Regions from separate parts of the Homo sapiens genome. Here region 1 is linked to region 2. Evidence: promoter capture Hi-C in human tissues and cell types (Jung and others, 2019). All regions are on one chromosome and are shown on one strand. The core of a region is centred on a gene start or on the middle of the fragment in contact, and the rest is flanking DNA. Distances in the headings are between cores, read along the strand shown.

Region 1 (6,397 bases), core at 3,867-6,366, 1.3 Mb before region 2:
TCCTATAGATCAAATGGAGTCTATGTGGTAATTCTCAAAGGAGGGGCTACCCATTTTTTTCAATATATTTGGATAGAACTTTAGGTCCAGACAAAAATACCCTTAAGAAACTCAAAAGAGAATATGCAAAATAAAACCAAGAGAGAATGTGGGTCTTAAGAGCATAGATTCTAAAATTATTAAAAAAGTTTGCTTATATATATATATATATATATTTTTGAAATGGGGTCTTGCTATGTTACCCAGCCTGGTCTTGAACTCCTGGGCTCAAGCGGTCTTCCCCTCTCCTGAGTAGCTGTGATTACAGGCACAAGGCTTGAAATTTAAAAATGAAACACTATCTGCCTAATATGAAATATTAGATACTCCATAAGAGCATCTACCTCAGCCTATTGCAACCCTGCAGCAATAAATAATTGATGAAGGCAATTCAGAAGAAAGCCAGTTTTCCATAGTGGGGTAAGTTTGTAAATCTGGCAAATTTGAGGGGTTTTTTTTAAACTACATGATTTGTAGCAATAAATTTAATGTACTTACAGTTTAGCTATAGTTAATGTGATTTAAATTTTTTTAATCTTATTCTCTAAGAGACACTGATTTTTATCATAGTTTTGCCAGCCTTAAGAAGAAACTCTGTAGTTAGTTATGGTCTATGATATTTAGAAATCATTATCATCCATGATTTCTACAGTTACTAATTAGAAAATAGAAGAGATCCTATTTATACTAGCAATAAACAATTAAACAAATCCATTCCCAAGTTACATTTTAGATGTAATGCTAATGCTAATAAAAGTCCAATAAGATGTAGAACTCAACAAAATCTATATTTATTTAGAAATTTAAGTAGGTAGATATTGTCAACAACTATCCTAAAGAAGTGTAATGATGATAGATCTGGACATTACGTTGTTGGTCTAAACAAAGAGCAAAATGTATTTTAAAACAATTATAAAAAAACAACATCATGTTTATCCCGCAGGCAGTGGTACAACTCTTTGAAATCAATTGTAGTGCTCAGATATGGTACCAGATTTAACTCCAGGCAATGAGTTATCAGAATTGCATTATTTTCTAAAAACAAAAATTAGTTTCATATAATATAGAAAAATAAATGTGGGATTTATTAGAGTTAAATATTACTATGAAATAAATATACTATATAGGAGAAAGTATATATTTTATAAATATGTGGAGGAAAAATAATTTCTTAAAATTGAAGTCTAGAAATAACAAAAAAGTGCAAGATTAAAAGATTTAAATTTATAATTAGTAAAATTCAGTAGAATGGAAAGTGATACAAAGAAAAAACAGAATGATTATGAATTTTTATTTTTTGTGTTTATTTAATGTGTGTCTGGGTATGCTTTCAATTAAAAAGGAAAAATAATTTTAAAACTCACTTAGCATAGCATCTAGAATGGACATTAAAAAATTAATAGATTGACATTCCAGATATTCAACTTGAAAATAATTAGTGCTAGATAGATTGTGATAGGAACTTTAGGGAAAGTTATTACTAGCAATTACTAATGCTACCATTAACTTTGCTTTTTCTTGCATATTTCCACTAACTTTCATATCAGTTTTTATTTTATACTCCCATATATTCTACAATGTCATTTAGCTTAGAGTCATATGGCTTAGATGTTACATTTTTTTCTTATTTTACTTAAGTCAGTGAGTTCCAAATTTATTGTCAAAAAATTTACCTCCACCCCCCACCAGATTTAGATTCAGCAAGTCAAGTCTGGAGAGTTCCAGGGATTTGAATTTTTAACAAGCACCCTCAGGTGATTTTTTCATGCAAGTGATTACAGTTAACTGTCCAGAACAATTTGTTTTTACCTTGGAATTTGTTTAAAGTGGAACTGGGGCTCAGAAAAGCAACAAAATTGAAAAATATTAGGGCAGGTCCTGTAAGCAGGAAGCAAGGACAGGGAGGCTGGAGAAGAGGAAAGAGAAAGAGGGTTCACAATAATGGCAGTTGTAGGTAGAGAAGTAGCTGGTGTAGACAAGAAAGTAGGATATAAAACTGGGTCACTGGCAACCCAACCAGGCTACAGAAATATATATATATATATATATATATATATATATATATATATATATATATATATATATATATATTTACAAAGTTATGTAGAAAGAAATATCTTTCATTGGAAAACTACTCATTGGTCTATGGCACACCCTTCCAGATTATTGGATTCCTGCTTTTTTATGTTTTTTTTTTTGTTGTTTGTTTGTTTTTTTGAGACAGAGTCTCGCTCTATCACCCAGGCTGGAGTGCAGTGGCGCGATCTGGGCTCACTGCAAGCTCCGCCTCCCGGGTTCACGCCATTCTCCTGTCTCAGCCTCCCGAGTAGCTGGGACTACAGGAGCCCGCCACGACGCCCGGCTGATTGTTTGTATTTTAGTAGAGATGGGGTTTCACCGTGTTAGCCAGGATGGTCTCGATCTCCTGACCTCGTGATCCACCTGCCTCGGCCTCCCAAAGGCTTTTTTACTGTCTTTGAACTATATTTTGACTCTGTAAAATGTAGGACACTGATAGGGGTACAAATTCTCTCCTGTCTGATAGTGATTTAATTGACTCACCTCTCCTATCCCCCCTATAACCTGGGGAAAAAAACAATTTTGTCTCCATTTACAATTCATCTCAACATTTCTTTAATCTGTGTAAATCTGCTGCTTTGATATTTCCTTTGAACTGGTCATAACATCTGCTTGGTCCCCTCATATCACATCAGCAAAAAATTTTTTAACATGTATTCATTCTTCCATCTGTGTGGGAGTCACGACTATACATGTTTCTGAAAATTATCTATAAAAGGGAATATATTTGCCTTATTGTTCATTATGGCTCTGACATTTGTTGGATTACTGAAGGATTTTATGAACACTCTCCTTATCCCCCTTTTTTTCAAATATAAGAATCAGCAACAAGCAATGGGGAAAGGATTCCCTGTTCAATAAATGGTGCTAGGAAAACTGGCTAGCCATATGCAGAAAACTGAATCTGGACCCCTTCCTTACACCTTTATACAAAAATCAACTCAAGACGGATTAAAGAAAGACTTAAATGTTAGACCTAAAACCATAAAAACCCTAAAAGAAAACCTAGGCAATACCATTCAGGACATAGGCATGGGCAAAGACTTCATGACTAAAACACCAAAGCAATTGCAAAAAAAGCCAAAATTGACAAATGGGATCTAATTAAACTAAAGAGCTTCTGCACAACAAAAGAAACTAGTATTAGAGTGAACAGGCAACCTACAGAATGGGAGAAAGTTCAATCTACCCATCTGACAAAGGTCTAATATCCAGAATCTACAAGGAACTTAAACAAATTTACAAGAAAAAAAAAACCCCATCAAAAAGTGGGCAAAGGATATGAACAGACACTTCTCAAAAGAAGACATTTATGCAGTCAACAAACATATGAAAAAAGCTCATTATCACTGATCATTAGAGAAATGCAAATCAAAACCACAATGAGATACCATCTCACACCATTCAGAATGGCGATTATTAAGTAGTCAGGAAACAATAGATGCTGGCTAGGCTGTGGAGAAATAGGAATGCTTTCACTCTGTTGGTGGGAGTGTAAATTAGTTCAACCATTGTGGAAGACAGTGTGGCGATTCCTCAAGGATCTAGAACCAGAAATACCGCTTGACCCAGCAATCCCATTACTGGGTATACACCCAAAGGATTATAAATCATTCTACTATAAAGATGCATGCACACGTATGTGTATTGCAGCACTATTTACAATAGCAAAGACTTGGAAGCAACCCAAATGCCCATCAATGATAGACTGGAAAAAGAAAATGTGGCACAGATACACCATGGAATACTATGCAGCCATAAAAAAGGAATGAGATCATGTCCTTTGCAGGGACATGGATGAAGCTGGAAGCCATCATCCTCAGCAAACTAACACAGGAACAGAAAACCAAACACTGCATGTTCTCACTGATAAGTGTGAGCTGAAAAATGAGAACACATGGAATAGGGAGGGGAACATCACACACTGGGGCCTGTCGGGGTTGGGGGCAAAGGGAGGGAGAGCATTAGGATAAATACCTAATGCATGCGGGGCTTAAAACCTAGATGACGGGTTGATGGGTGCAGCAAACCACCATGGCACATGTATACCTATGTAACAAACCTGCACATTCTGCACATGTATCCCAGAACTTAAAAAATTAAAATTAAAAAAAGAATCAGCAATAAAATTTTTATCTTTATTTAAGTCCAAGCTATTTAGCTTGTTATCAAGAGCAACTATCGTTCTTTTCTTTCAGTCTCTAATTTGCTGTAATAAGCAATTTCTGATAAGGCAATTCTAGTATGTGATTCAGAGAGCCAACCACCACAGCTCTTCCGTACCCTCTTCCATTTAGATATCGAAAAAACTCCTCCACCTCTCATCTCTGATACACAAGTGATAGAGCTAAGACTGCTTAGCACATTTAACCAGAAATACAGGAAATTAGCATTAGAATTCGACAAGTTAAGGAGAAGAGAGACCTTTATTTAATTTGTCTCTCAATTTTGTTTCTTTGTTTTCCTTCAAATAATAAAAGAAACAAATTTAAGCTATGGCCTAGGGATCTGCACACATCAAATATATCAGTCAGCCAGGTCTGCAGTCCTGAAGACAATGGTATTCTTGCTGCCTCCAGTTGATACCTGTAAAAGCCACAGTAAATTGCACTAAATGCTTCTGCCTCCTTTTTGGCAGAAAGGTGCACAGTCAGCTCAACCTCAACAGGTTCAGAAGGAAGCATGCTAAAATTGATCATAAAAAATCATTCCTATCTAAAATGAGAACAATGCTTGTCACACTGCAGCCTTTTAACTAGGCCATGATTTGAGGGGTCTTAGAGGAAAAACAATACTTTTTCCCTTCAACCAGTAGATTCCAATCAGCTAAGTGGAGCACAGTTCTAACTGGGTATCATATAGCCATTTCTAAAACTATGAGATCAGAGTCTCTCTCCACTAGAGGACACTCTCTAACTTACTGAAAAATAAAAAAGCTCTCTTTTTTTAATTAAAAAGAAAATTCTCCTCTAATTAAAAAGCATCAACATCCAGACATTTTACTCTTTGCAATTAGGAAACAGTGAGCATTTTGTTCTTAACTAAGATGTTGAATAGTAGGGGGATTTTAATTTCATTTGCACCATTAATCATGTATATTAAAATTACTCTACGGTCATGGTAAAGATAAATGTTTTGCCGAAGACTCCCCATTTAAGATAAAAGCAAAGTGGTTTACAAAACATATTTATCTTTTGTCATTAGTTACACTGAATGGCTCTTCTAGAAAGCTTTATTCAGAAATGAAAAAAGAGAAGAATTTCTTTGTCTCTCTCTCTCTCTCTCTCTCACACACACACACACACACACACACGGAGACAAATGAAGTTCGTTGGAACTTCATTAAGATCTTTTACCTAAATAAGTACTAGGACCTACAGCAGATAATAGTTGCCAATATCAAAGCACAGATAGTTCTTTGGAAATCAGAGATTTATCTAAGAATTCTAAAAGAAAGGAAAAGTAATGAAAGGGGTACGTTATATTAAGCTCATAGTTGAGGATGTGATTGCTGAAAGATATAACAACATCTGCTCAAATTTCAAGGAGACAAAATCACAAGAGGAAAACAAGGTATGAATTTTAAATTTGCTAACCATAATTCAGCTGTAGTGTCAGATTTCTTTATGAAAATAGATTTTATACTACATTACTATATATTTTTGTAGCTTTTAGGAACAAAGCAACTCAATTGTTTGATCAATAGATTATAAGAGAATTTAAGTAACAACAAATAACTTGGAGTTAATTAAGTTAATATAAATTTATAGTACCCATGGTGAGTGCTCACTCACTGTTAGCAATTATTATTATTATTAGTAGTAGTATTACTATTATGGGACAAACATTACTGTAAGTGATGATATATAGTATATATATCAAGTTAGGCCAAATTATGCCTTTCAGGAATCAGAGGGCTGCGCAGTGAACTTGGAATAAGCTGCTGGGGGATTTCCCACAGTAATCAAATGAAGAGAGGCAGTAGCATGGCTCCTCTAGAATAGAGAGGAAATCTTATTCACTTGAAGGAAAAGGGCCTGAGAAGTGGGAATATTATTACCACATTGTGCTGGGTAGTAAAAAGATTCTTGTAAGGGCTCAAATTTTAGCTCTTGATGGCTGTTTTCTACCTGCATGAAACAAAAGTTCATGGTGTCTAGAACAATCGGTGGACACCAGCCAGAAGAGGGGGTGTCCCTCTTGTTAACATCAAACATTTAACACCCAGATGCCCTTGATGACCTCACCCCTGGGAAGGTGTGATGTTGCACCTGAGTGT
Region 2 (6,559 bases), core at 1,025-3,524:
TCAAGCTCTACCAGGAAAAATGCAAGAAAGGACCCTAAATATTCATTCCGTTCACAGTCATCATTTCAATGAATTTAACTTTCCATTCAGTTGGGGTCATATATTTCAATCCTAGGGTAAAGAACTATGACCTTGGCTGGAATCATCAGTCCCAGTTACTCAATGGGGCACTTCTGAAACATCGCAGACTCATTTTGACTCTCCACGGGTGTGGCTAAAATTGGTCCTGTCCAGCCCTAAAGCTTATATGATCTGATGTCCCTCCGAAACTCACTATGAGAAAACTCATGCAAAATTTGCCATAGAGATCAAGGTTTACAGGACCCTTGGAGCTAATCTCTCTCTGCCCTCCTCCTCTGTTAGCTGTTACAAGCCTTCAAAAGTTAACAGGGTGATGGAGCCTCTCTCTATACAATCATCTCATCTCACTATCGTTGACTGAAACTCGCTGATGTAATGAAGTTACATAATCACCGATTATGCACGACTTCCATCCATCTTCCTACATATCCACATATCTTCTCCCCTCCCCTTTGGATCAATCTACCAGGTGAGATTTATAACATATGTAAATGCTCCACTCTCTCATCACAGGCACTGAATATGGAACTTTAGCATTGCAGTACAGTGCACTGAACCACGTCATCAATATTGATTTCTTTATCCCATTTCCCAGGCAGAATATGCTTAAACATCCTTAGTGTTCTAGTCTCTAACTTTTTACCGAAAGGGTAAAATAGATGTAGCAGACAGGACACATCTTCAACTTAAGGTTAGGGGAAGTATGTAATTAATTGCCTGCATTTCCCAAGCTGGCTGCATTGCAATAAAAGGACGGTCTCTGCTTTCAGACCTTCGACTCCCCTGCACGTGGGTCTCAGCTTCAGCTATTTAGGATATTGGGTAAATAATTATATTATTGGGCAATTGAACTTGAGAAAGAAAGCACTGTGGTGATATTTAAGATAATGTTGCCTTATTCTTCTCTATGTTAGCCATCATTTTTAGCTTTTTCTTTTCTTTTCCTTTTTTCACTCTGAGTGATAATCCAGTAGATAAAAAAGTAGCCCAGGGCGCTTAATAATCTCCAGTAACCACAACCTAGAGAACAATTAACGATGATTATCACCTTAAAGTTTAAGAACTTGACAAGTGGGATGTCCCTGGTCCCATTGCGGCTGTGAAATGCAGCAGAATGCTGCACTGAGTTGAAAACATATTTCTTTTAATGCATAGAGAGTAGCTCGTTTCATTTTAAATGGGGCTCTTCACTAAGTGTTTCTTTTACTGCTGCTACCCCTTCCAGAACGCAGGGGCCACAAATATTACATTCAAACAAAGAGTGTCTACCCAGAATTAATTCAAGACACTCTTCCATATCAAAATAATTGGGGGAGAGAGTGATACTTTGATTTTCAATTGCACTCAGAATACGGGCACACATACATATACACACACACGCACACACACATACACACACACACACACACACACACACACACACACACACACATATCAACACACCCAACTGCAGTTATTCCATTCAGTGCCAATAACGGCCACATCACAGCCATCAATGCGATGCAGCAATCATTCAAGTCACCCATTCCCATTACAAATGCCCAAGTTTGCTCATGCCACTGATGGGTTTGCATATATAAAATGACCTTACCCACAACAGTCTTCCAAATTATTCTCCTCTGGATATTAGTCGGTAAGGTAATTGCTGGTCATCACAATGCGTATTCAGAAAAATCCACGTTTTACTCCTGTGTTCTTTTTCTTGTTTTTGCTAGCAATTAATATTGTGAACAAGATTCCCATTCACAAATGCCAAGTTCACCATAAAAGCAGATAATTCCATACAGATCTTCCCTACAAGACTGTCTCCAGTTAGTTCTCAAAGTGCCCGATTGTTTGCTGAAGATACAATCCAGGTGCAGAGCAGGAAAAAAAAAAACAGACTAGGAGAAAAATGAAGAGGCAGATAGAAAAGGAGAGACTGAGAGAGGAGAGAGCAGAAAAAGAGAGGGGAAAATAAGAATAATTCTTAAAAAATAAGGAAGGAAAAAAGCCGATAAGTGAGAAGTCTGCGAGCTCTATGACAAGAATTGGAGTGTTGCTTGCAAATCTTCTGAGTACATGCAGCCTTTCAAATCCTCCTGGTCCCCAAGTAAAATTTCCAGATCCGGGATGCAGCCATAAGAAAGAATCCTATGTATATTTCACAAGTATCCCGCAATAACAGATCCGACGGGGTTTTCCTTGTACAGTACTGCTATGTGAAAGCACACAACCCCTGCTGTTTGGGAAGGTGTCTCCTGGGTCCTAGCTCTCCTCAGCAGCCCCCAAAAATGATTTTTCAAAAAAGAGTCGGGGGGGGGGGTGGGAAAAGCAGCTTTGCGTTTGCCTTGAATGATGCTAATCCTGAGCGAAAACCACAAGCAAAACACGAATAGCACGAGATCTTGATTAATAGCCACAATCCACTCAAAATATCCCAGGGAAGAAGGAGCGAAAACAAGAAAGAGAAACTGCAACGCATAAATGATTCCAGTGTTTCTACAAGATCGGTTCATTTGATTGAATGCATTCTCTGGTTTGCTGCAAGTCATAAAGAGGATAGTATTACTGCCACCCAATGGATATTTTAGTACTAGCCAATCCACAGACAGCCACCGCTTTGCGAGTTTGAGTTCTCAGAAGACCGAAGTGGAAGGAAGGTAGCCTGGGAATCTTTTGGAAAGGACCCTGGGAGGCTTCAAATAACGGAAATCTGTTCTTCCAGGCAAAAGCAGACTGGCAAATTTGGATGCTTATACAGTCTTGCCTTAGCCACCTTAGAATTATGGTTCCATTTCTCTAGGAAGCAGAAAGATACAGAGAGTGATGCCTAAGCCGACACACTCTTGATAACCTCCTTTTCATCTCTTCTCTTTGAAGCAGATTTATTATTGCGCGCGACCCTCCCACCCCCATCACTGTCTCCCCAACGCCCCCATTCTCCGTATCACTTTAAGATGGATTACAAGAGAGAAGGGGTGCGGGGGCTGCTCCAAACAAACCTCAGGTGCTAAGATGATAATTGTTTCTAAAGGGCAGTTTTGCAAAAGTGCCTCTGTCTGTATTGATATGCAAACTGTGAGTCCTTCAAGCAGTAACCCTCCTCACAGCCGCGCTTTCAGTTTGGGGGAGGAGCAAAATCTTCCCTAAGTGAGTGGGGCTTGGGAGAAGGGTGCCTGTGGAAGGCTCTCTGGGAGTGCGGGGTGGGGGTGGGGAGTGGGAGGAGGAGCGGAGGGGAGGGTATTGAAGAGGATCCTCCTCCCATCCACCGCGTAATTGAGTTCCCTGCAAAAGAGTTCGCTGCTGGTTTCTGAGATGAATTTGTGATGAAGAAAGAGGGTCAAAGTAGGTACGGGTAAATACATTAGGTTATTTGCTCAATTTAAGGTCCTTGACCATTTACATTGGGATAGTATAACACTCACATGTGATTCCGTGATTCTCAAACTTTGATGTACACACCGTCACCTGGGTGTCTTGTTAAAATGCAGATTCGGATTCGGTACATCTGGAGTGAGGCCTGAGACCCTGCGTTTCTAATAAGCTCGCCCGTGGCCCATAATAATGTTGCTGGGCTGTGGACCACATTTGGAGTAGCAAGACCCTTAAAAAATGTTAATGTTTACACTGCAGCAACAGTGTCAGTTTCCGGCAGCTGAGTAGGCTGGATGATTAAAAGGCAGCGAGCCGCTTTTCTAGTTACTTCTCTCCCTCTCCCCACCCTGCAACCTTTCCCATTCAACACCGGCAGCCCATGTACTTAAAAACCTTAACCCATTTTGTAATGTATCCCACAAGCTTTTGTAATGGCAGGCTTAACCGGATAAACCAAAAATAGAATAAATAGGTAAAGTAGCCTTGGCCCTTCAGAACTGTTTTAATTTGGGGAGTAAAACACGCATCAAGATAAAGAAAACACTTTAAAAATTAGGTAAAATGTGAGCTAAACGAATACAAACTAAGCGCGCAGGTGAGAATAACAGCAGGCAGGGAGACTAGACAGGGAGGTAAAACTGTATTTCGAAAAAAGGAGCAGTACACTGAAATTTCCAACCTAAGCAGAGGGAAAATGTGGTTAAAGTCGGTAGGCAAGTCTTACAAGGTTTCTTTGAAGCTAACTCACCCATGTTCACATCTTCTGTGCCAGTGTTTTTCTTCCCTCTGCTTCTTCCCCACATGCTATAATTCAGCCTAAACTGAAGATTAGAAGTGAAGAGGAAATATATTCCCCTCCTTTCAACGTGAGTGATCTAGATTTTCTATACCTTCCATCACAGTCCTCTAGTTGACCCAGTTGAATGTGAATAGACCTCAAGCAGACCTGGAGGGGGGCACAAGTAACAAGTGTAAATGTAATTGCTTCAAGCAAAATTTAAAAGTAAACGTCTTGACCGTAGGCTCCAATCCTAGATTTGAGTCTAAATTCTACTCCTAAGTAGCCATAATTACCCAAGGGAATCACTTTAATTTCTCTTGGCCTCAGTTTCCTTGTCTATAAAATGACAGGTTGAAATTAACCAGTTGCCAACGTGCTGTCCAGCTCCATATGGTACAAAAATCACGTCCTCTCTTTGAAATGTTCTGCAAGTCAGTTTGTTACTGTACACAGAGAAGGAGTTATGATTATTACCTTGACATGGGCTGCAGAGAGCATCTAGAAGCTTTGAAAAGCATCTCGAGGACACAGGTGAACATTTGACCACTTCAATCCTATTTCAAGAGATGATTTAAAGTGCTTTCATTTCAAATGAAATGATCAGATCCAGGAAAGGAAGTGTTTGTTTGAATCTGAGGTGAAGCATTGTCTATTCCTGGATCCTACAGAGCCAACTGTGGGCCTCGCTGTTTGTTGCCATGGGATCCTCTTTGTGCGAACTATCTTGAACTGTGTGGGAACATTTTCCTCTTGCCTCCCTTCAGTTCTCTAACTCTTCTGAAGATATGTGTCAGAACAAAATGTAGCTGCATTATTGCCAATTAAGACTAACGGCAGCTGCAAGGTGCATCTAATTAAGAATTTTAATTACTTCACTGAATTCTCATTTGCAGATGTTTAGAGCATTCAACAATGTATTGTGATTTTTATTTTAAAATCTGAATAAAGCTGACCTCCCTCCAAAGGAGGGTGGAAAACTACACAACCCAATGATGGATATTTTTAAAAAAGAGTCTTTGACATGGAAAGTATATACCTTGATATATCATTTGAGAATATGCGACATTATATTGAGGATGAGGAAATAGAGTGCATATCCATAAATATGCCTTTTTTACTAAAGGAAAAGGCAAGCAAATCACAAAATACTGGAAACAAATTGATAATTTACTATTCAAGTAGAATCCTTGCATGCTACATAGTTCTCAAATATTCTGTTCTTTTTCTTTCCAGTAATATGATGGTTAACTGTAGGTTTGGCACTGCAGTATGGGGATTGTAGGCTATAATGCAAAGCATTATGGGGTTTGTAGTAAAAACTGGCTGCAGATCAATTCCATGCTTCTAGCTTTTCTCAGTTGAAGAAACTGCTGTTTTATTTTCTAGTAATAAAGAAGAATGTCAAGATACTGTACATTAGATTCATTTTAATGAAACAAGGTTGGTATTAATGGGAGTATGAAATTAAAGGTTAGCTACAGAAATATTCTGACTTGGGAGATGGAGAATATAACCCCACTTTACAAACCCCAAAATAAACTGAGTGAGCTATTTCCTAATATTACTATCCTATAGTTAAGGTTTCAAAAATCACTTTCATTGTTTTAGTAGTAAAACGTGAGAAAATATCAAATTTGGTATTTACGAAAGAGAATGATCAACACCTGAAATGAACTCAAGTTCTTATTGATTCTGTCTTTAACTATTGGTAGTTGAAATTTAATTCTTCACATTTCACGTCATTGAAGGCTATAATAATAGTTTGCTTTAGCGCAGCTTTTTGTGGATGGAGGCTTCTTTAAAGAGAGAAAGAGAGCCTACTCAGCTGCCAGCCACTCAGTGAAGTGAACAAGAGTTTTATTTAATCTACCTTTTTAGATACTTTTTATATAAAATTACTCTGAATATTCAGAGTAGCTTCTCTTTTTAATAAAATCCTTAAGGCTAGAATATCCTTAAGGTTAGGAAATATGTCTGAATTGGGTTATTTTATTCAGTTTAAATTTAATTATGGAAATGTATAAATTAAGAAGTTATAATTCAGTTCATTTTTGTGTGCAGATGATTCTATGTAGATAAATACATAATTTACAGAGGTTTTGATTTAATTCTGTTGGCAGTTTATTTCAAAGTTCACTAAACATTTTCCATATGATATGAATTCAAAGTCTAGCTCCCCACAATGCTCTATGAAATCAGCCCCCCTTTTGTTTTGAAGGCTAAAATACGTCTCTTCAAAGCCTCTTCCATCTGTGAAAGTTTCGATTATCATGCTAAGTTACTTAGAAGGTATTTTATACCTGAGGTTGCTTCTTTTTCTCTTTCTCTCCTTAAAGAAGC

Evidence for each region. Contacts are between HindIII fragments. The study calls those that stand out against the background at their distance.
Region 1: a fragment that was not itself captured here is called in contact with the fragment with the promoter of IL1RAPL1 in region 2 in 1 of the 25 tissues and cell types used here (hippocampus).

What each region holds. Positions count from the first base shown.
Region 1 is chrX:29,902,194-29,908,590 of GRCh38, reverse strand. All of the region lies in intron 6 of IL1RAPL1 (interleukin 1 receptor accessory protein like 1), which reads right to left. Among named protein-coding and RNA genes, the nearest start is that of MAGEB2, 310 kb to the left of the region's middle. The HindIII fragment of the contact is 8,592 bases long and covers 821-6,397 here.
Region 2 is chrX:28,583,161-28,589,719 of GRCh38, reverse strand. It overlaps IL1RAPL1 (interleukin 1 receptor accessory protein like 1), which reads right to left and starts at 2,274. Exons shown (of 11, transcript NM_014271.4): 1 at 1,673-2,274. The HindIII fragment of the contact is 4,831 bases long and covers 1-4,293 here.